Linked DNA regions of Homo sapiens: all the other regions are linked to region 4. The links are contacts of gene promoters, found by promoter capture Hi-C in blood cells and fetal thymus (Javierre and others, 2016). All regions are on one chromosome and are shown on one strand. Each heading gives the region's core, a stretch centred on a gene start or on the middle of the fragment in contact. The rest is flanking DNA. Distances are from core to core; before and after follow the strand shown. Region 1 overlaps FAM200C (family with sequence similarity 200 member C). Region 2 overlaps CYFIP2 (cytoplasmic FMR1 interacting protein 2). Region 3 overlaps CLINT1 (clathrin interactor 1). Region 4 holds the start of RNF145 (ring finger protein 145). Region 5 overlaps CLINT1 (clathrin interactor 1).

Region 1 (4,982 bases), core at 478-2,977, 1.2 Mb after region 4:
TGCTAAGTTAGATTCCCATGGGGAATTTTTTGATGGTCTTGAATTACTCCATTGATTTCATGTCAATTTATTTATGATTTATACTCTGACATTTTGAACTTAGAAAAATACATATAAGATGTAATATAAGTGACAAAATTAGGGTAAAGGAAAAATAAGTATAGGAAAAATTGAACCCAGAGGACCCAAGAATCCAAGAATCCATCAGAACAGTCTGGAAAGCTGGTTATGAATGAGGATCCTTGACCTTATCACAGGCCTACTAATCACAATCTCTAGGGTAAGGCTCAGGAATCTCCTTTTCAGCAGCCTTGATAACTTGGAGTTCTGAAGTAATTTAAAGATGACAAACAGTGATTAATATATTAGGCTATTTATTAATATGATATTCATAGCACAGGAGCTAGGGGAATGGACATTGTGAGACTAACTCCAAAGAGTATATTTAAAAGTAAGTCTTACATAAGCCAGATCATTCCTTTTCCCATTATATTTCATAATCCTCTTCTGATTTCATTAACCTCTCCATAACAAAGACGGGCGAACTCAATCTTTCATTTTGCCTTTTTGACTTCTGGGATATCTTCTCTTTTCTCCTGGCTCAATTCCTAGCCTATTGCACCATTTAGCTGGATATTCTAGTGCTTAGGTATCTTTTTCATATACCACACGAACAGGTTAAACAGATACTTAGAATTGGGAAAATCTCATGATAGCAACTAGGCAGTAGTACTTAATCTTTTCTGCTGTGTTTTTATTCTCAAAACATATTTTCACATGCCTCATTCAAAATTAAAGTTCTTAAGTTTTTTAGACATAGAATTCAGTATATCATAAATATGAAAGAGACAGAATTACAGCTTAATTTTACAATGATATTAAGATTGAAATTATTCATTAAAAAAGTATATCAGCTTACAGTGACTTCTGCTGTAGCTGTAGCTTTTGTTCAATGATGTCCGAGAAACGAGGAACTTTTTTTGAAATAGCCACACGGATATCATCACTCAGATTAAAGCAGCTTCTGGACTTTGTTTTGAAATGTAAAAGTGATGAAAATCCCAACTCACAAAGGTATGTAGTTGCAAATGGCATAAGGATTTCTAGAGCTGTCTTTGCCAGGTTTGGAAATGCTGTGAATTGGGCACACCAGAAATCCTCAAGCTTCATTGTCTCAAATTCCATTAGGATTTGGCCACTAGCTCGTAATTCAGCAAGATCATTTTTCATTAAATAACTATCATCAACAAAATCGATATTAAAAAGAAATGGATCCAATATCCATTTACTTGCCTCATTAAGATCTCCAATGGAAAAATATCCATGGAAGAAGTTGCTCAATTGTTGCAGATGCAGTGTTATTTCAGCTGCAATGAATATGCCTTCATTATCTGAAACAATTATTTCTTCAAGAAAAGGAAAATTGGTAAAATTTCTTTTCTCAATTCGTTTTTGCCAAAATGGAAACTTCCTAACAAAAGCAGATAACTTCTCTCTAGCTGATACTGTGTTCATCCCAGTCCTCTGCATAGATGCACTGAGTTCATTTAAGTGTTTGAATAAATCTGCAAGGTATGCTAGGTGAATTTTAAACTCTTTATTTTCAAAGCCATCAACTAAATTACTGCTCTTGTGGTGAAGAAACTGATTTATTTCTTCATACATTTCAAAAATGTGAGTAAGTATTTGGCCTCGGGAAAGCCACCTCATTTCAGTATGGAAAAGGAGGACACTATATTCTATGCCAATTTCTTCAAAGAAAGCCTGAAATAGGCGATGATTTGGAGCTCTCCCTTTGATGAAATTTATTACCCTCACCACAGTAAACAGAGCATCCCTCAGTTTTGTAGGCAATGTCTTTATGACAAGTGCATGAGGATTCAATAAACAATGTGTAACTACGATATGAGGTATCTCTTTTTTCACGTAGGCAACAAACTCGGAATTTTCTCCTAGCATAGAGGAGGCACCATCAGTACAAACAGAGCCACATACATCAAGTGCTATCTTATGCTTCAGAAAGAAGTCTCTGAAGAGATTGAACACATCTATTCCTTTCATGGATAGCTGCAATGGTTCACAGAAGAGAAATTCTTCTACGATCTCTCTTTCTTTTATATAGCGCACAAATGCCATTAGCTGACTGCAGTCATCCATGTCAGTTGTCTCAGCAAGCTGAATACCCACTTTAAGAGGACTGGCTTTGATATCTTCTAGAACTTGCTGTAAGATATCCTGGCTCATTTCATCAATTCTAGAATGGATCACATCATCTGATAAGGGTACCTGCTGAAGCTTTTTTTGTGCATCTGGTCCCAAAACTATTTGTGCTATTTCCAGTGCACAAGGTTTCACTAACTTTTCAGCTACTGTATGAGGATTCTTCTCCTTGGCACATAAATACGCAAATTGATACGATGCTTGTAATAAAGTATCCTCATGAGATGCAACTCCAAATGCTTTCAAGGTTTCACTCTGATCAGATGGTGCTGGCATATGCTTCAGGCTATTGAGATCATGCCCAGCTACACCACCATGCTGTCTGTTAAAATGGTCTGACAGTTTTGATGGTCTGAGGTCAGCATTTGAAAATACTGAGTTACACAACACACACTGTGGACGCTGAGTTCCATCTACTTCCGTTGTACAGGTGAACCAGTAGCGAACATAGTCATCATCCCATTTGCGTTTCTTCGACATGGCACACAAAAATTCTCAGGTAGTATTCCAGAGATGCCACAGAATTTTGCTTTGGGAGTAAAATATAACCCACACATTAAAAACCAGTGGCTAACTGAATTAAAACAAAGCCACATCACATGCTATCTTGTATATGTCAAGATACAGCCTGCAGCATGTCAATTCGAAGTAAGCCATGACAGGATATAGTTCAACTTAAAGCTAGCAACTCATAGCTAATGCCCTGGAATAAATGATTTGCCAGCAAGTTATATATGGGAGATTTGAGCTTAGACAAGTTATGAACACCTGTAAGTCCTTTATTGGTGAATTATAGTTATGGCTTAACTTGTTTTCAATAATGTATGTTACAAACAAATCTAGCACATTTTGTATCCCTAGAAAGGGCATCTCACTACCACCACCTTCTTCCACTCAGCCCCAAAGATGTATGCATACCCTCAGTTAAGAATCACTGAATAAAGGAGCAATTCACTAAATAAGGAAGGGTGGATTCTGACATGGAGGTTAAAATAATTGTATACATTTATGGGGTACAAGCACAATTTTGTTATATGCATAGACCACATAGTGGCAAAGTGAGGGTTTTTAGGGTATCCGTCACCCAAATAACATACATTGTACTCATTATTTCTCATCTACTCCCTCCCACCCCACTCTTCCACCCCACCCTTCCAAGTCTCCTTTACCCATCACTCCATTATCCACGTCCATGTGTACACATTATTTAGCTACCATTTATGAGTGAGAACATGGTAGTTCTTTTTAATAGTTAAAGACTAAACAGGTCTGTAATACTATTTGAACCTTGAGCAGTTTTGACTCCAACTTAGGCAGAGAATTTCAAATAGGTCTTTAAGTCTGATTAAGCCACCCCTGATGCAAAGGTAGGCTACAAATTGGCTCAGAGCTTCCTTGCTGCTAAGTGTAACACACTATCAGTCCATGATTCATAGTGTCCATATAAAAAAGCAAAATGGTCGGGCGTGGTAGCTCATGCCTGTAATCCCAGCACTTTAGGAGGCTGAGGTGGGTGGACTGCCTGAGCTCAGGAGTTCGAGACCAGCCTGGGCAATATGGTGAAACCCCATCTCTACTAAAAATACAAAAAATTAGCTGGGCATGGTGGCATACGCCTGTAGTCCCAGCTACTAAGCCAAGATCATGCCACTGCACTCCAGCCTGGGCGACAGAGCAAGTCTCTGTGGAAAAAAAAAAAAAAAAAAAAAAGCAAAACAACTTGCTCAGGGGAAACACAACTATTCTTGTTACCGAGACTTCAGAAAAATCCCTCTCATAGGAGAACACTCTTAAGTAAAATAACGAATTTCATGATGCTTTTCCACCTAAATACCTCTAAGGGAAAGCAGTCAAGAACACACACATGCACATACACAAAATAAGCAGCATTCCTAAGGTTTGGTTTAACCCAAAGACAGGATGTAGAAGGCCCTACCCATAGAGATTCTGATTCTCCAGCTATGGAGTGGGGGCCTAGAATCTGTATTGTAAGTATTTTAGATAATTCTTATAAATAGTAACTAGAACAGTGATCTGTGACAAGAGACACCATATCATCACAATCACTGGGAAACCCTTTCAAAATATACACGTCCCTGCACTACCTTAGAACTAATACATATCTTCTCCAGAAGCAGAACAAAAGAATATGAAATAATGTTGTTCAGGCAGTCCTGAAACACAACCTGGTTAAGTAGTCAGGCTTAGGGGAATAAAAACGTATCCTTCAAACCAATCCTTAGCTAACAAATATTCTAGGTTTCTAAGTGAATGGTCCCAATGCTTTAATAGATATTTAAATTTTCTACATTTTCTGAGTTGATGACAGCCTCCTATGAAAGTTGAAACCTAAAATGAAAGCCATATCTTTTCTCTTTCTCTCCCTTTAGCAACGAGTAAAGGCATAATCCACAGGTAGGCTCAAATATACCTTAGAAAACATTCTATCTCCAAGATAAGTAAGTGATCCCCAAAGTTTCCAAAGTTCTGTGCCAGAGAATGTGGCTGAAATAAAGTAACAGGTACACATTTAAATCTGAATGCCCACTTTGGACATTAAAAGAAAAATCACAAGCCAAGAATATCCACTTAAAGCATTAGCTTTCAAGTGGATCTACCAAGATGAACTAGTTGTAAAGTGTACTCCAATAAAATAAGCTGAGCTGTTACAAGGTTGTTATGAGCCTGTTAAATTGGAGGATGTCTGCCAATCAAAAAAGACAACCTGAAGTTTAAAGAGCTGATCTTAAGACTTCTTTTGT
Region 2 (3,624 bases), core at 193-2,692, 1.9 Mb before region 4:
TCCCACCTCCACTTCCATACAGTGCCCTGCCCTTCCCCCAGTCTCCAGTGTCAGAAATGGTTTTCAAGAAAGGAGCCAATGATTGTGTTTATCTTGAAGAGCTAAATACAAAAGAAGTTCCCATTTGATGCAGAGCAGGTGCTTTACAAGTCATTTGACCGGAAAAGAAACAGAGGATGGAGGCATTTTAATGGGAAACAAAGCTTTAATGGGAAACACTGTAGAAATATTTGCTATCACTAATGGTAGAATTTCAAACAGTGGGCTGGAAGTGGAGGTGGGGAGCTGGGTAGTTCTTTTGGGAACGGGTCCCTGAAATGACAATATCTAGCAGCTGTCAGCTCTGTATTTGGCAAGGGCAGCTTTGGCCCTGCAGGCAGGAATGCTGTAAGAGTGTGTATGCATGCATGTGCATGCGTGCATGTTTGTTTGACTGGTCAGGTGTTACTGTCACCAGAAGGCATTTTTTGAGCACCCAGTGTCCACTTTCGGGATGAGAAACTTGTGTACACAGGGTTCCTCGTTGGCATTGGCTGCCCTTTGCCAAGGCAATTATTAGACCTCAAGAAGATAGTGTTGTTGCTTACAAAGTCAGTGCCTCTAGCTAGTTGTGCGCACTGAGCCTCTGGCTGGGGGCATTAGCTCTCTGCTCACTAAGCTTCTTTATTATATTTCCTGGCCAGTTCTGACCGGTTCTGTAGGCACCCAAGGCTGCCTTGTTCAGTCCCTGCTGGAAAATGAAAAAGGAAAAACTTGCTTTAGGCATTAGGCCAAGAGTCGGATGTACAACCCAGTGGGGTTGGAGAGTTTTACTCAAATCAGATGCTGGCCCAGAGAAGGAAGTAGACATGAATTCAAAAACCGGTAAAAGGCCCTGGTAGAACACTACATGACCCCTCTGATAAATCATGCCCTCTCTGATGTTCAGTGGCCTCTGCTGCTGTCATCAACCAGAAAGCTGAATGAGATGATGAATCGGCTACAAGCTAATTAACGGGAAAAGCGCTCCTGGAAAACAGTACGGGTCCCAGTCCCTACGTTTAAAGATTGGACTACACTCTCAACGCAGCTTCTTTGGACCACTGTTGGCCCCAGGGGTCCACCAAAAGCGTCACAAAATGGCCTTTTGTAGCCTCCATGTGGCCACCGTAACAATGAGTCTATTTCTTTACTGGCAAGTATTAATTATTCACTTGTAATTGACAAAGCCAGACATCAGTCACCTCACTGGAGTCTTTATGAAAGGCTTTTGGTCCTGTCATTCTGAGGAGCAAAGCCATGCCTAGGGTCCAGGGGATGGCCCCTGCATCAGTAGTGAGATGGTGGGAGAAGGGGGGCAGGCTGCTGCCTTCTTGGCAGTGAATGGAGGCAGGGGAGGAACTAGAATATCTTTGGATGCTCTTACTACCCAAGGGGTGCATGAAAGTGCCGAGCAGAATGCTTAGCACATAGTAAGTACTAGCATATTTATGTATTTATTGTTATAATGTATTAATTACATAATCATTAAGAATTTGGCTTATGTATGTAATCAACCCTTGGCTATTACCAGCCCCTCTCCCTCCAGAGCTTTCCTGAATTTTGCTTTTTTGAGGGAAGTTGGTCTCTGTGACCAGTAAACCCAGCCCCAAGTTTACCGGCCGAAGGAAGGGAAAGTTAAGAGTGATAGGGCATGAAGTGAAAGGCTTCAGGTGGGAAGTGCTCTTAAGTAGCACAAGAGAGGTGGGTGGAACCTGAGTAGGTAGGGAGAAGTGGGAGGGAACAAGCCAAGCAGAAGCCCAGGGCCATTCTCACATTTCAACACGTAGAGTTAAGGAAGGGCCTCTTCCTCTGTGAGAATTCAGCATTTTGCAACCATCCAAAAATGTTGAGGGCATGCTTTGCTTCCAGGGCAGACAGAGCAGCACAGTGAGCATGGGACACAGGATCCCTGACTTGCTGTGTGCCCTTAAACCAGCCACTACCTCTCTGACGTTCAAAATTGAGCAATGGAAGGCAGCCTGCCCAACTGTTACCTGCCTGTCATCATGAAAGCCTGCGGATGAGGTAATGTCTGTAAATCCCAGTCTGAGAAAAAAAAGCCGTGGAAATAGAGAAGGAGCCTCCTGAATGTGTGACTCTTTTGGGTAAATGCCCTCCATTCCTTAAGAAACAATTTATTAATTATATATTGTGTGTCACTTTAAGAAGATGGATCTGTGGCCTCTCTGTACTGTTGAGCCAATGGGAAGCTTAAAGGCACTTTGTGATTCACAGATTCTGTCAAGGCCCCTGGATGGCCTTGTCTGTACAAAGACACTTCAGAATTCAGTCAGTGGGTATGGGACGCCTCCCAGGATGCAAAGAGCTTAGATATTGGCTTTCTAGCCATGGGCATTATGCTAAGGGCTGTGTGTGATGTACCTCAAAAAATAGCCATTTAAGCCATACTTGGGCCCTGGCAACAGAGGGTGCAAATTCTTGAAAGAAATTGTTTTGAGAAGGCAGAGCTTGAGTTCAGGCAGAATTTCTTGCAGGGATCATTCTGGTTGCGTGGCATTTTGATAGACTTTGGGCAACTCAGATACAGGCAGTGAGAGAGGGAAGTAAATAGGACCTTCTTGCGAGATGCCTGAGAAAGACCCAGTGATGACTTCATCAGTAGACCTTTTGATTCTGTTTGCGTCATTATTTGGTCATTGTAGAGCAATGGTTCTTAGGCTTTAATCTCTAGGTAAAACAGAGGTGTGTTTAGTCTGTCCATGTTCTCTGTTTTCTAAGTAAGGCAGGAGGTGAGGTCCTCTGCAGGAAATAAAGGTGATGGACTGGTTAGGAAACTTCAGGAGACTTCAGGGTTTGGAACAGTTGCCTATGTGGGTGGAATAAGAAATAAACTGGGGAAGAATGAGAGAATTGTCTAACTTCACTGAAGGCCTGGCTGAGATCAAAGAGAATTTGCAGGGCTGACCCTCAGAGAAGACATGCAGTAACTCTTAAGGAATATCCGAGAACTATTTTTGATTTGTGCTTTTAAAATATGATGCTTTAAGATTTGTTTTGGCAAGATATGAATGGCAAGATAAGAATTCAGAACTAGAGGTCAGCCCCCTATCTCCAAGTCTGTTATACTTCCATATGGGAAAGAGAAATGAGGACCTGCTTCTTAGGGTTTGAAGTGGAAACTATACGACAGAAGGATTTTCTAAAGAACTCTCCTCAGATTCTTATATTGACAAGGCAGCCTTGGATATGGGACCTTAGAGAAGCATGATATTTTAACTTTCTTGTTAATTTTTTTAAACCAGAAGTTAAGAATTTTGGTCATTGGCTCATGCAGTCAACAAATCATTCATGAAGTATTAATTAAGCAAGTAATTCCTGGTGTGTGCCTATCTCTGTGCTGGTTGCTATGGGTCAAACTCAGATAAGATGACTATCCTTGGCATTCTTAGCAATCCAAAGAATTAGTGAAATATAAAGCAGTTTGTCGTGCAGTTAAAAACTGTGGACTCTAGACTGTGAGTGCTAAGGGAGTGAGAGAAATAAAGGTCATTAAGGGGCTTGGCTGGTCAGACCTTTGTGGAAAAGGCATGTCTTCGTGTGGGCCATGATAGATCGGTAAGATTTGAGAAGGGAAGAAGACAG
Region 3 (5,091 bases), core at 506-3,005, 1.4 Mb before region 4:
GTGCAGTGGCACAATCACAGCTCACTGCAGCTTTCAACTCCTGGGTTCAAGTGATCCTCCCATTTCAGCCTCCCATGTAGCTGGGACTATAGGCATGCATCACCATGTCCGGCTAATTTTTTAATTTTTTTGTAGAGACAAGGTCTGTGTTGCCCAGGCTAGTCTTGGACTACTGGGCTCAAGAGATCTTCCCTTCTCGGCCTCCCAAAGTGTTGGGATTACAGTTGTGAGCCACGGCACCTGGCCTTGCACTGTTCTTTAATGATTTACTAAAAATGCATGAAAACAAATGGCAAACAAACAAACAAACAAAAAACCCGAAAATTGAATTTTCAATGCATGCCTTTTTTCTACTATAAAAATATAAGCTATTTGAATGAGAATTCTTGAATGAAACATTTCATTCAATAGTTGTTGAAAAAGCACGCATGTACGTTTACCACATAATGATGAGTGTGTGCAAAATTATAAAAGATTATTTATATTAAAGTTATCTAGAACTTAAATACTGTCCTAAGAATTGAGAAGCTAAATAAAATTCATGTCAAAACAAATATTCTAGGCCAGGCACAGTGGCTCACACCTGCAATTCCAGCATTTTGGGAGGCCACGGTGGGTAGATTGCTTGAGCTCAGGAGTTCGAGACCAGCCTGGGAAATGCGGCAAAACTCCATTTCTACCAAAATACAAAAATTAGCTGGGTGTTGTGACATGTGTCTGTCGTCCCAGCTACTTGGGAGGATCGCTTAAGCTACTTGGGAGGATCGCTTAAACCTAGGAGGCTGAAGCAGAGATGGCACCATTACACTCCAGCCTGAGTGACAGAGCAAGACCCCGTCTCAAAAAAAAAAAAAAAAAAGAAATGAAATATTCTAAAATTGGCTAACTAGACTCTTCTTAAATGAAGTACAAACCATTCATGTGCACTGTTGCACATTAACAAAATCACTCACATTTAATAATTCGTTAGCTAAATCTATCCACAAGTAATAAGTAGCTATAAATTGGCTCAAACATAGGAATATATTACGTTCCTTTACCTGTATTTAATTTTCAGGCAAAAGAGCCCTGGTAAGCCAAATAATTTCTTGCCAATTTGAGGGGTTGAATAACCAGAAAGCCCTTTCTCCAATGTGCTTTCCTTGTATATACTGTTTGTCCATTGTCAAACACCATGAATTTGGTATCACATATTTTAGAGGATTCTTTTTCTTGATATTGTTCAGTCTCTTAAGAATAAATTGTCTGCTTCAATTTGCATTTATGAAATAAATCTTTTTATGTTTTAGTAATGTTTTACATTAGCAGTTACTTTAAAATCTTGAGAATACACAAAACAAGCTGAACAAAATATTAAGAATTGGCAGATGGAATTCGCGATATGTCTTTCCAAAGACTTTATTCCTCAACATGTCTTTTGAAAGGGTATTTCTGCAATATGCTTTGCAATATTAAAGTAGAAGCCATTTATGATTTAGCAAAAATAATACAAGGCATAAACAACAGAGGTATTTAAATTAGCTGTCCTATATGTAGGCTAAACTGAGTCTTAAGAGAGAGTACTCACTGAAAATAATGATTTCATGGATGAAGATATAGTTCCTACATACTTACAAATAACCTAGTCTGACAATGATATCTCTATTTTCACAAACACTGTATTCCTTTGATTTTTCTAGTGTTATACTGTTTTGTGTGTAACAGTAATAACAGTAATAGATGTTTCAAGAGTTTACTGTATGTCAAGTACTATACTGTTTCACATTTAATCCTCATAATCCTATAAAATATCATCTCTATTTTACAGAGAAATAAAGATACCATTCTAACACATAAGATCACCGTTTCTAGTAGCAGACCTAAGATTTCAATCCAGTTCTCACCTCTGAACCACTAGCTATTCCCACATTTATTAAACACCATCTGGAGGCACCTAAGTATAGTGGCAAAGTATATTTGGCTAGCAAATTATTATAAAAATACATAGATGGACAAACACACATAATTAAGCTAAACAAGGAAAGCTCACATGAAGCGTTAACCTGAAAAACACAGAAGAGTAAACAGTAAAATATGTTGTCACCAAAGGTAGCTGAGACTAAAAAGTTAACTGTATATAAGAACCTTCAAAAGTACTAAAAATGTACTTTGAATCTGTGAAGTGATCTTCATTAAAACAAACATTGGAAACAAGTAGGAAAATAATATAAGCATACAAAAGGCCAGAGGCAATGGCTCATGCCTGTAATCCCAGCCCTTTGGGAGGCTAAGGCAGGCAGATCACATGAAGTCAGGAGTTCGAGACCAGCCTGGCCAAAGTGATGAAACCCCGTCTCTACAAAAATTAGCTGGGCATGGTGGCACATGCCTGTAATCCCAGCTACTTGGGTGGCTAAGGCAGGAGACTCGCTGGAACCTGGGAGGCAGAGGCCAGTCGCAGTGAGTTGAGATCACACCATGGCACTCCAGCCTGGGAGACAGAGCAAGACTCCATCTCAAGAAAGAAAGAAAAAAAAAAAAGTCCAGAAAAAGACTCAACTGTAGAGCCATATTGTGAAACCTTGGATTACTAGCAAATGGCACTCAAAATAAAAAAGGCTAAGTACTTTCAATGGACATATCAGTAAACAGATGAAAAACTGCTTTGTAGGCCGGGCACGGAGGCTCACGCCTGTAATCCCAGCACTTTGGGAGTCTGAGGCAGGTGGATCACCTGAGGTCAAGAGTTCAAGACCAGCCTGGCCAACATGACGAAATCTCGTCTCTACTAAAATTACAAAAATTAGCCGGGCATGGTGGCACGTGCCTGTAATCCCAGCTACTCAGGAGGCTGAAGCAAGAGAATTGCTTGAACCCAGGAGGCAGAGGTTGCAGTGAGCCAATATCGCACCATTGCACTCCAGCCTGGGCAACGAGAGCGAGACACCATCTCAAAAAAAAAAAAAAAAAAAAAAAAAGAAAAACTGCTTGTAAACTAATACTAAAGTGTGCAAGAAAACATAAGAGGCAGTTAAGTGCTTTTTAAAAGCACCCTGACAGTAGTACTAAATAGATTAAACTACAGAAAATTACCCCTAAGAAATGCTAGCAGAGATAAACCAAACTCATCTTTCTTTGGAATTAAATTCCTAATATCTACTTGTGTCCAGTTACTAGAAAAGGAGGAGAATAATTAATTCATTGTTTCAGCAATAACAATTACTTATAATCGGTTCAAAGAAAAGTTGACATGGGAAGACTAGAAAGCTGACAACTATCTTACTATCTCTGCTTTCAAATTCCAAGAAGCAAACTGAACAGAGATTTACTGGTAAGATAAAGAAAATAAAGGGGATGATATCTGAAGACTGAAAGAAAAGAAAAGAAAAATAATCCATTCAAGTTGTAGCATATTTGTAGTGGCAAGGTTCTTGAAGGCAGGTATTGTATGTTTCGAGTTCAGAAAATAGAGTACTAGACCAGGCGCAATGGCTCCCGCCTGTAATCCCTGCGCTTCAGGATGCTGAGGCAGGCAGACTGCCTGAGCCCAGGAGTTCAAGACTAGCCTGGGCAACATAGCAAGAACCCTTCTCCACAAAAAAATTTTTTAAAATTAGCCACGCATGGAGGCGCAGCTGTGGTCCCAGCTGCAGTGTGCATGTTTGCATCACTGTGCTCCAGCCTGGACAACTGAGTGTGACCCTGTCTCAAAAATAAAAAATAAAAAGAAACCAGACTACTAATCCAATAAATAACAAATGTATTGCCTGTTAAAATAAATGAATATACTATTCTTTATAAAAGCAAAAGTTTCTCCCTCTGGAGTCAGGAGACTAGAACAGCAGTTTCTACAGCTCTATTACATTATCTAAACATTTAGGAACTAAAACCAAGCAAATATACATCAATAAAAATCAACTTATGAGGGAAAATGCAAGCTATGCTTAGGAGAATAACTTAAAATGGACTACCCATAGCTGTTGCCTTAGGACCTTAGCCAGAGCTGTTTGAATCACTATCAAAAAAAGGGCCACTGAGGCTGGGCAAGGTGGCTCATGCCTGTAATCCCAGCACTTTGGGAGGCCGAGGTGGGTGGATCACCTGAGGTCACAAGTTTGAGACCAGCCTGGCCAACACAGCAAAACCTCAGCTGTATGAAAAATACAAAAATTAGCCAGGCATGGAGGTAGACGCCTGTAATCCCAGCTACTCGGGAGGCTGAGGCAGGAGAATCATTTGAACCCGGGAGGTAGAGATTGCAGTGGGCTGAAATCACGCCATTGCACTTCAGCCTGGGGGATAAAGTGAACTGTCTCCGAAAAAAAAAAAAGGCGGGGGGGGGGGCGGGTCACTGATGAAAGAGATTTACCACTAATATTACTCCTTGCAAGGAAAGAGAAGGATTCGCTGAGCTTGAACAAATAAGTAGCAGTTTTGATCTACCACTACCATGTCACCTTCATTACATTCCTCAAATCTAGAGAGAAAATAGAACTGCAGCAACTTTCAATTTTACCATGTATAGGATGACAAAATATAAACATGTCCAATTTTATTACAGCCACAAGTAAAGATAGGTCATAGGATGACAATGATTAAGCTAGTGCTCCTAGTTGGTGGGAATGGTGCCACTTATCCTTTCCTGCCACATCGCCTTTTATGCAACTTGACGAGTGGGAAGATACTGGCATTCCAAGCTCTGGCAGGCCTATGGCTTTATCTGCTTCCCTCAGTTCCACAATGTTCTGCAAAACAAATCCCTCTACTGCCACCAGGAGGTGCAGCGATTGTGGAAAATATACCCCCACTTCCAGAAAAAGTCTTCAAGGTCTCAAAAGCCAGTGTTTGAAATACATCATTATCACTTTGAGTAGCTGAGATGGGTGGATCACCTGAGGTCAGGAGTTCAAGACCAGCCTGGCCAACATGGCGAAACCCCGTGTCTACTAAAAATACACAGATTAGCTGGGTGTGGTGGCAGGCACCTGTAATTCCAGCTACTAGGGAGGCTGAGGCAGGAGACTCGCTTGAACCCCAGAAGTGTAAGCTGCAGTGAGCTGAGATCTCGCCACTGCACTTCAGCCCCGGGAACAAGAGCGAAACCCCATCTCA
Region 4 (4,891 bases), core at 1,108-3,607:
TTAGTTTTGAATATGAAGAAACCAAACAAATCGTCCTGAATAAGAAAAATGTAGGTTTTTACAGTCACAGCTAATCTCTGAAGAACTATGTCAAATAAGAGAAATGAAAAATGTGATTTTTTATTTCTCTTATTTGAGTTCTTCAAAAATACACCTCCTAAACTTTTTTTTAAAAAGACAAAGAAAAAACAAGAATGACACGTGACCCAACTTAAAACTATTCAGTACAATACTTCTACACCTTCCCCCTAAAAAAGAAAAACAAAAATCATCATTCACCATTATCTCCTTTCTTTCTCCCAACCAGTTAAAAAAAAAAATTCTACCATCAACTAAAACTGATCTTAAGAAAAGTAAATTTTCGGGCTGTCCATCGGTTAGGATGGTAGGCCTCACTGAAAATGTTAAGAGCACAAAGCTAGAGCCTAAAATTCTAAGTAAAAGCCCAGAACTGAGATACCAGGAAAGAGAACGCATTTCTTACATAAGCAATGGCACATGTTTTAAATATAGCTGGTCCTCCCCACTCCCACTCCTTGCTAGCTAACTTTGTATGTACCTGATCTCCACATAAACTACTAGCAATTCTGTGGTTTCTCATCATCTCCCAAACCGCAAAGACAGGGAGTCTACTCTGAATACAAAGGCCATCTTTCAACTTAAGGAACAGAGAGAGGAAATAAAACTGCTACCTCTGCCATCGGCCGCTCAGCCTGGGTCACGACTGCAGCACCGACAGCTCATTCTTTTGGGCATGATTCAAGATTCAGTAAAACTGCACACTCCGTATTTTAAAAAATAAAAAGACACACAGTCCTCTCCTTCCCTTTCAGACTAGTTTCCTCTTTACTGCAGACTGCGACGCAAGGCCATCCACTAATCTTTGATGCCTGCTCACTGCACAGGCCCCTTCCTCTCTCCCCGCACCTCCTCCCACAACGCCTGCAGATCTCAGATGCGTTTGAACTACAGTAACCCCAACCCAGCTCGCGGCAAGCAGGCAGCGCAGCAGCAGTAGCAGCAGCAACCGGGCCGCCGCCGCCGCGGGGCTAAGAGATTACGTTCAGCAAAAACTCTTCCAGGAAAGAGGCTCGAGAGCTCCCCTCCTATCTCGCCAAGGGTGCTGACTCTGTCGCGCCACGCCACGTACCAAAAGGCTCGCGAAGAAAAACGCGGGCGAAGTTCAGCATCCCCGAACAGAAAGGGAACTCATTCCAGAAAGGGGGTTCACGGGTCTGAGGGTCCTTGGGTGGGGAAAGCAGTATTGGAGGGAGAAGACAGAAGGGATGGCAAGACAGAGGAAACCACGGGGACAAAAAGGAAGGGATGAGGAGCCCTCTTACTATAAAAGGGACTGACGGACGGGATGCAGAGCAATGGGCCCCCCTCGAAAAATGGACTGGCAGGCCCTTCCGCACCCCCAAACAACCTCGCACCACCTGAAAGCGGGGAGCTTGAGTTTGGGGCTGCGTAGATCAAAGCAGGGTAAGACGAAGGGAAAGAGGGAGGGGAGCTTGGAAGCAAAGTGAACAAAGAGGCAAAAGAGGCAAAGTTGGAAATGGAAACGAGAAAGGGAGCTGGAAAGGGGCCGCTCTGGAAGGGTCTTGAAAAAGGCCTAGAAATGGGATGCTGGGGAGGCAAAGGGGGACAGCCCCGAGGAAGGGCATCTCAGGAATGTAAGGGAGCGCTCCAGGCCCTGGGAAGAGGAAGGGATGGGAGGGCGGGGAGGCAGCCGAGGCCCGGGAGCTGGAACAGAGGGGGCTTTGCGCGGGGCCCAGGAGGGGAGAGCAGGGTCGGAGGGAGGCGACCACCGCGGGAAGAGCTAGAGGATGGGAGGGAGGGGTGCTGCGGCTGAAGAGGGGATGTGGACTCCTCCAATGCTAGGGAGAAGAGGGAGGTGAAGCGAGATAAAAGGAAAGGGGCGAACAGGGAGAAGAGGAAGGAGCCTGCGACGCGATGGGGGAGGGGAGGGAGGCCGTGGGAAGCGGCCGGGGGGCGCGGGGATGGGAAGGGGCCGGGCGGGCGGCGTGGTCACCTCAGGCTGCGGACTCCCTCCCTGGGGAGCGGCGCTGCCGGCGGGCGGGCTCCGCAACTCCCCGGCTCTCTCGCCCGCCCTCCCGTTCTCCTCGGGCGGCGGCGGGGGCCGGTACGGCACGGCTCACAGCGGCGGCTCTTCTGCGCCGAGCCTCGGATGTTGCTTCTGGGGAGGCGGAGGCAGCGGCAGCGGCAGCGGCCCGGCCCGTACGGTCACCATCGTCCGCGGCAGCAGGCGCTCGCGGGCCGAGCCCCTTAGCAGCCGGCGCCGGCGTCGGCGGCCATGGCCTCCTGCGTTTGCTCCTCCCGCCCCCGGCGCTCTGCGGCGGCCGCGGCCCGACTTCCGCACTCTGCGCCTGCGCGCGGCCCAGCCAGCGCGGCGCGCCCCTCCCGCGCGCGCCCGCGCTCACTCACAATCGCGCCCGCGGAGTGCTTTCCGCACCGCCTCCGGTGCGTGGGCGGGAGACATAAGCCTAGCCAAGCCCATACAGCCCGGCTCGGGTGGCTATGGAGAGGCGTACTGCAGAGACACCTGGACGCGCACTGTGACAGGCGCCATTCTGACACACGTGCTCTCTCACTCCCAAACACCACGGGCCGCAAGCGCTCACACCCACACTCACCTGCAGGGACCACGTGGGAGAATTTGAAGGGCTGATCCTGTCCCGGTGCATTCGCAGTAGCAATGATGCGAGAATTCGTTTTAACCTCGTCACTGACTGGACTAGACTGTAAACTCCTTGGCGTCTGGGATGGCTCAGCCGTGCCCAGCACCAAGTGCAGGCACTCAAACCCCTGTGGAGTAAGTGACTGGATGAATGAATGCATTGGAACTGTTCACTGAGTATCTGTAACAATTTTGATCCCATGGTTTGGTACAAAGAATTTTATTGCAGTATGAAATTAAATGGTGTTTGTGTGTTTGTCTTGTCTTGGTCTAAGGTTCAAAACAGGCTAATGTATGTTTTCCCCTCCCCAACGTAGAGGAGTTCCACTTTGTCTCTGTGCCAGTCTCTATCACAGAATGCGCAATCCTACCCTAATTTAAATGTCCACACCTTTTAGGGCAGGAACTGTTGCCCAGAATACATAGCCTGAAGCATATTGTGTGTTTACACAACGATAGTCTTCTGGGCTTGGCAAGACTTCTCATTCCCCATTTGTCTGCCACTCTGCCTCACCACGACCTTCTGCAACCCCCACTTCTATCTCCCCTGCCTTCCACCATCACCAAAACCCCTCCACTGTTTCTTGCTTTCTCTTTCGTTAGTTCCTGGGGAGCCAGTTGCTATGAGCACCTAGCCTGGCCTTAGATGTTGAAAGGGCCAGTGTACACAGAAGATACACACCCAGTGATGGGTAAGATGTTGCAACTATACTGGGTCATGCTGAAATTGTGAAGCCTCAACTTCTTCATGTGCAAGAGAAATTAATGTACTGTAATCTCGATGTCTGTGTTGAGGACCCTCCTTGTAAATTCAAGTCTCTGGCCTCTGCCCTTTGAATGGTAAACCCCCAATTCTGAACACTCTTGTATCCTGCTGAAATTGTGAAAGCAAGCTCTGTATTTAGAAAATGCAATCCCTGGAGGTATCAGTCAACCAAACTCTGAGTAACTTGCCTTCCATTAGTTTGATAGCTCTGTAGGAATCAAGTGTTTAAAATGTGTGGGAATTGTGTACATAACTCACTATAACCACCTTTCATCCAGGTGCCTCAGACTACTTCACCATAGTCATAAATCCTGTCACATCCCAGTGATGCAGTTCATGAGTCTCTTAATCTAGCCTGGTAAGTAAAAAAATTACAGAGGTCACATGAATAATGACTGGAATAGGAAATGGACCAAGATAGCAAGGCCTTATCTTGATCCCCTCCCTGTTTTAACAACTTTACATCTGACTGAGTCAAGAAAACCTAAGGCCAGAAACAGATTACAAAGAAGTCAAAATGAACGTAACACTAAATTCTAACTTTATTTATTTATTATTCTTGGATAAATGGCAGAATCCTGAAAATGTGATTCTAAAAGGAAGTATGGTTGCTGGATTTGCGTGGTTTTTGTTTGTTTGTTTGTTTGTTTTTTGAGACGGAGTCCACTCTTGTTGCCCAGGCTGGAGTGCAGTGGCGTGATCTTGGCTCATCGCAACCTCCGCCTCCTGGGTTCGAGCAATTCTCCTGCCTCAGCCTCCCAAGTAGCTGGGATTACAGGCATGCACCACCACACCTGGCTAATTTTGTATTTTTAGTAGAGATGGGGTTTCTTCATGTTGGTCAGGCTGGTCTCTAACTGGATTTGTGTTTTAAATGGAGGAGAGGCCTACTTCAGCTCTTACCTTTCCTTTTTTTAAAGTGGAGAAAATGGCTTCAAAGCCCTGTAACCCTCACTGGAAGTATTCTGGACTTGTAAAAGCAGGAAAAAGTCACATGTCTTTTTACCTTTTAACTTAATAGCAGCTGCCTGTAAATGCTGAAGTTCAAAACAAGTAAAGAAAATTACTCTGGTAATGAAAGGGTTACTGCTATTATAGTGCTGCTAATCCAGTTATGGGAAAGCTCCACATTGCCAGAAGCAGGTAATTAAACAGAACTAAAAAGCAACGCAAAAGAAAAAAGAAGTGGGGGTGGGGCGGGTGAATCGAGAGCAGCTCAAATAAAAGAGCTCAATCAAGTGTAGAGGAAGTACTTTCTAGAGGCACCCAAACCCACCCAAATCAGGAAAAGCCAGGAGCTAAATTTGTCCTTAAGTACCTGGAAGAAACATAAGGAAATGTCTAAATGCCACAGCTTGGTCATAAAAGGAACTTACCCAGGGTGCTAGAAGGAAAGAAGTGGTATGTTTATGACTGCCCAATGG
Region 5 (4,755 bases), core at 1,493-3,992, 1.4 Mb before region 4:
ACTCAGGAGACTGAGGCAGGAGAATCGCTTGAACCCGGGAGGCAGAGGTTGCAGTGAGTCAAGACTGTGTACTGCACTCCAGCCTGGGCAACAAGGGCGAAACTCTGTCTCAAAAAAAAAAATAGAGAAAGAAAGTAGGTCAAACCAGATGTCTGGGCTGGGTGCAGTGGCTCACACCTGTAATCCCAGCACTTCGGGAGGCTGAGGCAGGCAGATCACCTGAGGTCAGGAGTTCGAGACCAGCCTGGCCAACACAGTGAAACTCCGTCTCTACTAAATATACAAAAATTAGCCAGGCATGGTGGCAGGTGACTGTAATCCCAGCTACTCGAGAAGCTTAGGCAAGAGAATTGCTTGAATAAAGTTCATGCCTAATCCAAGAATTTTAACATAGTAGGTAAGGAGGAGGAAATAATAGGGGGCTTTATATTACATTAATTATACTAAACTATCAGTGAAAAGTAATTTCCAGCATAGACTTACACTTAAAGGTTAAGTTAAAGTTTTTTTTTTTTTGAGACAAGAGTCTTGCTCTGTCACTCCAGCTGGAGTGTAGTGGCATGATCTCAGCTCATTGCAAACTCCACCTCCTGGGTTCAAGCGATTCTCCTGCCTTAGTCTCCTGAGTAGCGGGGATTAAAGGTGCCCATCACCACGCCAAACTAATTTTTGTAGTTTTAGTAGAGACAGGGTTTCACCATGTTGGCCATGCTGGTCTTGAACTCCTGACCTCAGGTGATCCGCCTGCCTCGGCCTCCCAAAGTGCTGGGATTACAGGTGTGAGCCACTGTGCACAGCCACAATTCGGCTTTGAAAAATCATTACACACAACTGGGAATAATAAATTTACTTTGCACATTAGTCATACCCCCATCTTACTGTCTACATTTTAATGTGAAATGAACTTAGGCTTGGAAAGACTGTCTTTAAACAGAAGATGTATTTGTTAAACTATTTTGACACGTCACACAATAGTTTATTAAAACTCCATAATCATCAAATACAACCCTAAAAATATCAATTTTCTTGAAAACAATTGATCAGAAATTACTCAAAATCTAGCACATACTGGAAATCAAACTGAAGAAATCATCAATCTCATCTATGAGAAATTCAAGGTAAACAGTTCTTTTGCTGTAGCCCTCTCTTTTTTTTTTTTTTTTCCGAGATGGAGTTTTTCACTGTTGTTGCCCAGGCTGGAGTGCAATGGCGCAATCTCCGTTCACTGCAACCTCCGCCTCCCGGGTTCAAGTGATTCTCCTGCCTCAGCCTCCCGAGTAGCTGGGATTACAGGTACCTGCCACCATACCCGGCTAATTTTTGTATTTTCAGTAGAGACAGGGTATCACCATGTTGGCCAGGCTGGTCTCGAACTCCTGATCTCAGGTGATCCACCTCCCTCGGCCTCCCAAAGTGCTGGGATTACAGGGGTCAGCCACCACGCCCAGCCGCCCTCTTTAAATATGTTTGGTAGTTACATACTTTCAGAGAATGTCATTCCTCTGACTGAAGCACTTGCCATTGTTTATCACTAGATAACTATTTGTGACTCTGATTAATGATTATTTTCTCCACTTGACCTTCGCATGAGGACAACAACTCTGTTTTTTACAAGCACCCAGATCAGTGTCTGGTTCAACAAATATTTGTTCAATTAAAAGAATAAAAAGTTAAATGATCTCTAGGCATGCCCAAGGTGACAGCTGCAATTAAAATTTAGGGAAAGACAGTAAAATGCGCAGAGCAGTACCTTTTGCTTATAAAGAAAGTAAAGGCAACAGTTTAAATGCAATTTTTTGTTTCTCCAAGTTAATCTTAAAAATTAAAAATGGAAACTATAGATTCCAAAATCTATGATGAAAAATTTCAGAAAGTACATGATGCCTTGAAATACTATTTATTATTAATTAGGGAAGACACAGTACATCAGGTATGAGGAGTCATTAAAATCTAAGTATGATAATGATTTGAGGATACTATTATTAACCACCAATAAGTACTGACCACAAACAAAGTTTTGCTAGTCTGAGGGTGGGTCAGAAAAAGGTATAAAATAGGGATAGAGAAATGGGTGTACATATAAAAAGATAAGCAAAAATAACACAATGATTCCAAATAATGCTCAAGACTCACTAATTTCATATAAAAAATGAACCCAATGCAAATAAGTAATCTTATTTTTCAATCTATCTTTTATTTGGCATTTTAAAAAATGACTCTCAAACCAAAAGAAAAGGCCAATGTAGAAGCTTACCTGTTGACTGGCTGGTGCCATCAAACAGATCAACAAGGTCACCAGATGACTTGCTGCTAGGCACTGAAGTCTGAAAACACACACATAACTCAGGAGCTTCGAAAAGTTTGTTTTTCTAAAAATCAGCTCTATCCATCTCTAATTCTCAATTTAGACATAAATACCTGTAATTAGCTTAATAAGGGTAGGGTTTTCTGGAAAAAGAGTACTGACCTTGAATCCTTATGGAGAGGCAGCAAGCACTTTTAAGTACCTCCATTCCCAGCAGTGTAAAAGTCTCTTAACATTGACACTTTTTTTCCTACCTCACTTTTCTGACTGCATTTCACTCTGGAAAATATTAACTGCCAGATCCCACTTGAATCTTAATGCTAAGTATCAGTTCATTAAAAAAAAAAAAAAAAAAAAATACCCTAGCATATGTACCAGTCCCATACAATACACTGAGTCATAATTGCCCAGGTATAAAAAGGCCAAGACCTTGGCCTGTTAAAGTCTTACAAGAAAGCTCCCTAGATAATTCCAAGGCTTGAGATCCACTGGATTAGAGGTCAAGATCCTAAACAGCTCTAAATTTCTATGAACCTTAGCAAAACTTATTGTTTGTATATCACACAAGTTAGTATAATTCTATGTTATTTGATATATTGATATGTTTCATATTTAGTTCCCCAACTAAACTGAGGCCTATACCTGTAATACTATTTTTATCTTCTCCACAAAGCTAAGCACCCTGATACCTAAATACCTATGTCCTATATGTTAGATATATACATGCTAAATTAGAACTCAATTATTAGGCAATGGGGAAACCCTAAGATCCTAGGCATGTTGATTTGAACTTTGAAAACTAAAATACTATATACTGTGATTCCAAAACACCTTTAAGAACAGATCCAAATGAGTTGGGTAACTTTCTAAGAACTTCAACCTTCTAGACATTTTTTTTGAGGGGAGGAGGGTAAATGAAAACAAAAAAGAAAAAGCTTGTACTGCCGGGCGCGGTGGCTCAAGCCTGTAATCCCAACACTTTGGGAGGCCGAAGCAGGTGGATCACTTGAGGTCGGGAGTTCGAGACTAGCCTGACCAACATGGAGAAAGCCCGTCTCTACTAAAAATACAAAAAAATTAGCCGGGCATGGTGGTGCATGCCTGTAATCTCAGCTACTCGGGAGGCTGAGGCAGGAGAATCACTTGAACCTGGGAAGCAGAGGTTGCGGTGAGCCAAGATCGCGCCATTGCACTCTAGCCTGGGCAACAAGAGCGAAACTCGGTCTTCCAAAAAAAGAAAAAGAAAAAGAAAAAGCTTGTACTACAAATATAAAATATTTATTGCAGAGTGTCATATATTCAGGCTATACTACAAACTGTTATTTAAAATCCTTTAAGATATGTGATAAAAGTCTCTATTATTAAAAAAATTATACAGATATTTGGCAAAAGCTGACATGGTATTTGTTATTGCAACTAAGCAGGCCTGGTTTTATTTTCAGAGTCACCTACAATCTGCTGCATACATTAGAAAACTGTTTTTCCCAGCTTTTAGCTATTTCTCTTGCAAAGACACAAACTGGGGAAACAGTAGTCGGGGAAAGTGACAAAAACAATAATTTAGTCTTTTGAGGCAAATCTCCCTATTTGGCAGATTTCTGTTGAAAAGACTAGGGTTTGGCCAGGTACCTAGCAGGTGGATTTCATCTCTATGGTAAATAAAAACAAACGAAGATGGTACAAGAGGCAGTGCTTCTTTTGATACTGATCAGTAATGACTGTGAGGCAAACACGCCTCCCTTTATAGGCAACGTTTCTACATTACATGAGATAACTTGCCCCTATATATCTCTTCTTACTCCCTCGTTTGTCATTTCTTAAAACTTTCAAATACTTCCAATGTTTTCTTTAGTGAATCTACTTGTGGTTGGTAACCAGTATTGTCTAGATGGGGACAGAGGCACTACATTCTGATTCACAACCTTCCCCAAACAAACCAAAAGTGTCATTTCTACTTTCATAGAAAGTACCCAATCATTCAGCAATTGGACAGGTTTCTCCCCTCAAAGAGATTTCTTATTATTAATGTCTCTTGGTAATACATGCCAGATGATCCATAATTAATATGATTGCCTAGAAATGCCCAAGCCTACTAATGCAGGAATTCGAAGAGCGGTTTATAAAAATAAAACCATGTATAATGTGTAAACTACTGCCATTCCCACCTTAACTGAAGACTGAGGTGTGTGGGTTGAAGCATTCTGATCTGGACTTGCTTTGTCCCCTGTGTAATGTGCTGCTGCTCCAAGATCAATGGTTTTGGAAGGATTTGCTGTGCGCTTGTGTCTGGTTGTGGTGGTCTCTGTGGCCTGTGTGATATGAATATGCTTTGTCGTCACAGTCTCCTCTTCATCTTTGAATTCACCTTTGGGAGATCTGCCTCTTCTCGCTTTCTTTTCCTCATCGCTGTCGCTAAAAGATATTAAAAATGAAGCAAAATAATAAGACGG

The links. The method cuts DNA at HindIII sites, captures the fragments that hold promoters and counts their contacts. A CHiCAGO score of 5 or more calls a contact.
Region 1: a contact is called between a fragment that was not itself captured here and the fragment with the promoter of RNF145 in region 4, in 4 of 17 cell types (erythroblasts, total CD8 T cells, naive CD8 T cells and 1 more). The highest score is 5.5, in erythroblasts.
Region 2: a contact is called between a fragment that was not itself captured here and the fragment with the promoter of RNF145 in region 4, in 1 of 17 cell types (total B cells). The highest score is 5.0, in total B cells.
Region 3: a contact is called between a fragment that was not itself captured here and the fragment with the promoter of RNF145 in region 4, in 1 of 17 cell types (total CD4 T cells). The highest score is 5.4, in total CD4 T cells.
Region 5: a contact is called between a fragment that was not itself captured here and the fragment with the promoter of RNF145 in region 4, in 1 of 17 cell types (total B cells). The highest score is 6.2, in total B cells.

What each region holds. Positions count from the first base shown.
Region 1 is chr5:160,392,791-160,397,772 of GRCh38, forward strand. It overlaps FAM200C (family with sequence similarity 200 member C), which reads right to left. Exons shown (of 2, transcript NM_022090.5): 2 at 358-2,749. The coding sequence starts at 2,700. The coding sequence ends at 916. Among named protein-coding and RNA genes, the nearest start is that of FAM200C, 4.8 kb to the right of the region's middle. The HindIII fragment of the contact is 1,131 bases long and covers 1,163-2,293 here.
Region 2 is chr5:157,267,538-157,271,161 of GRCh38, forward strand. All of the region lies in intron 1 of CYFIP2 (cytoplasmic FMR1 interacting protein 2), which reads left to right. Among named protein-coding and RNA genes, the nearest start is that of CYFIP2, 3.2 kb to the left of the region's middle. The HindIII fragment of the contact is 1,573 bases long and covers 657-2,229 here.
Region 3 is chr5:157,850,846-157,855,936 of GRCh38, forward strand. The region is part of intron 1 of CLINT1 (clathrin interactor 1); the gene reads right to left. Among named protein-coding and RNA genes, the nearest start is that of CLINT1, 5.8 kb to the right of the region's middle. The HindIII fragment of the contact is 9,777 bases long and covers 1-5,091 here.
Region 4 is chr5:159,207,196-159,212,086 of GRCh38, forward strand. RNF145 (ring finger protein 145) reads right to left here and starts at 2,358. Exons shown (of 11, transcript NM_001199383.2): 1 at 2,036-2,358. It overlaps LOC107986468 (a long non-coding RNA gene), which reads left to right and starts at 832. Exons shown (of 2, transcript XR_001742943.2): 1 at 832-1,485; 2 at 2,664-2,957. RefSeq lists enhancers at 469-1,124, 724-773, 864-913, 1,024-1,143, 2,731-2,830 and silencers at 2,041-2,230, 2,271-2,560. The HindIII fragment of the contact is 10,196 bases long and covers 1-4,891 here.
Region 5 is chr5:157,801,396-157,806,150 of GRCh38, forward strand. It overlaps CLINT1 (clathrin interactor 1), which reads right to left. Exons shown (of 12, transcript NM_014666.4): 7 at 4,471-4,717; 8 at 2,255-2,324. Among named protein-coding and RNA genes, the nearest start is that of CLINT1, 55 kb to the right of the region's middle. The HindIII fragment of the contact is 991 bases long and covers 2,248-3,238 here.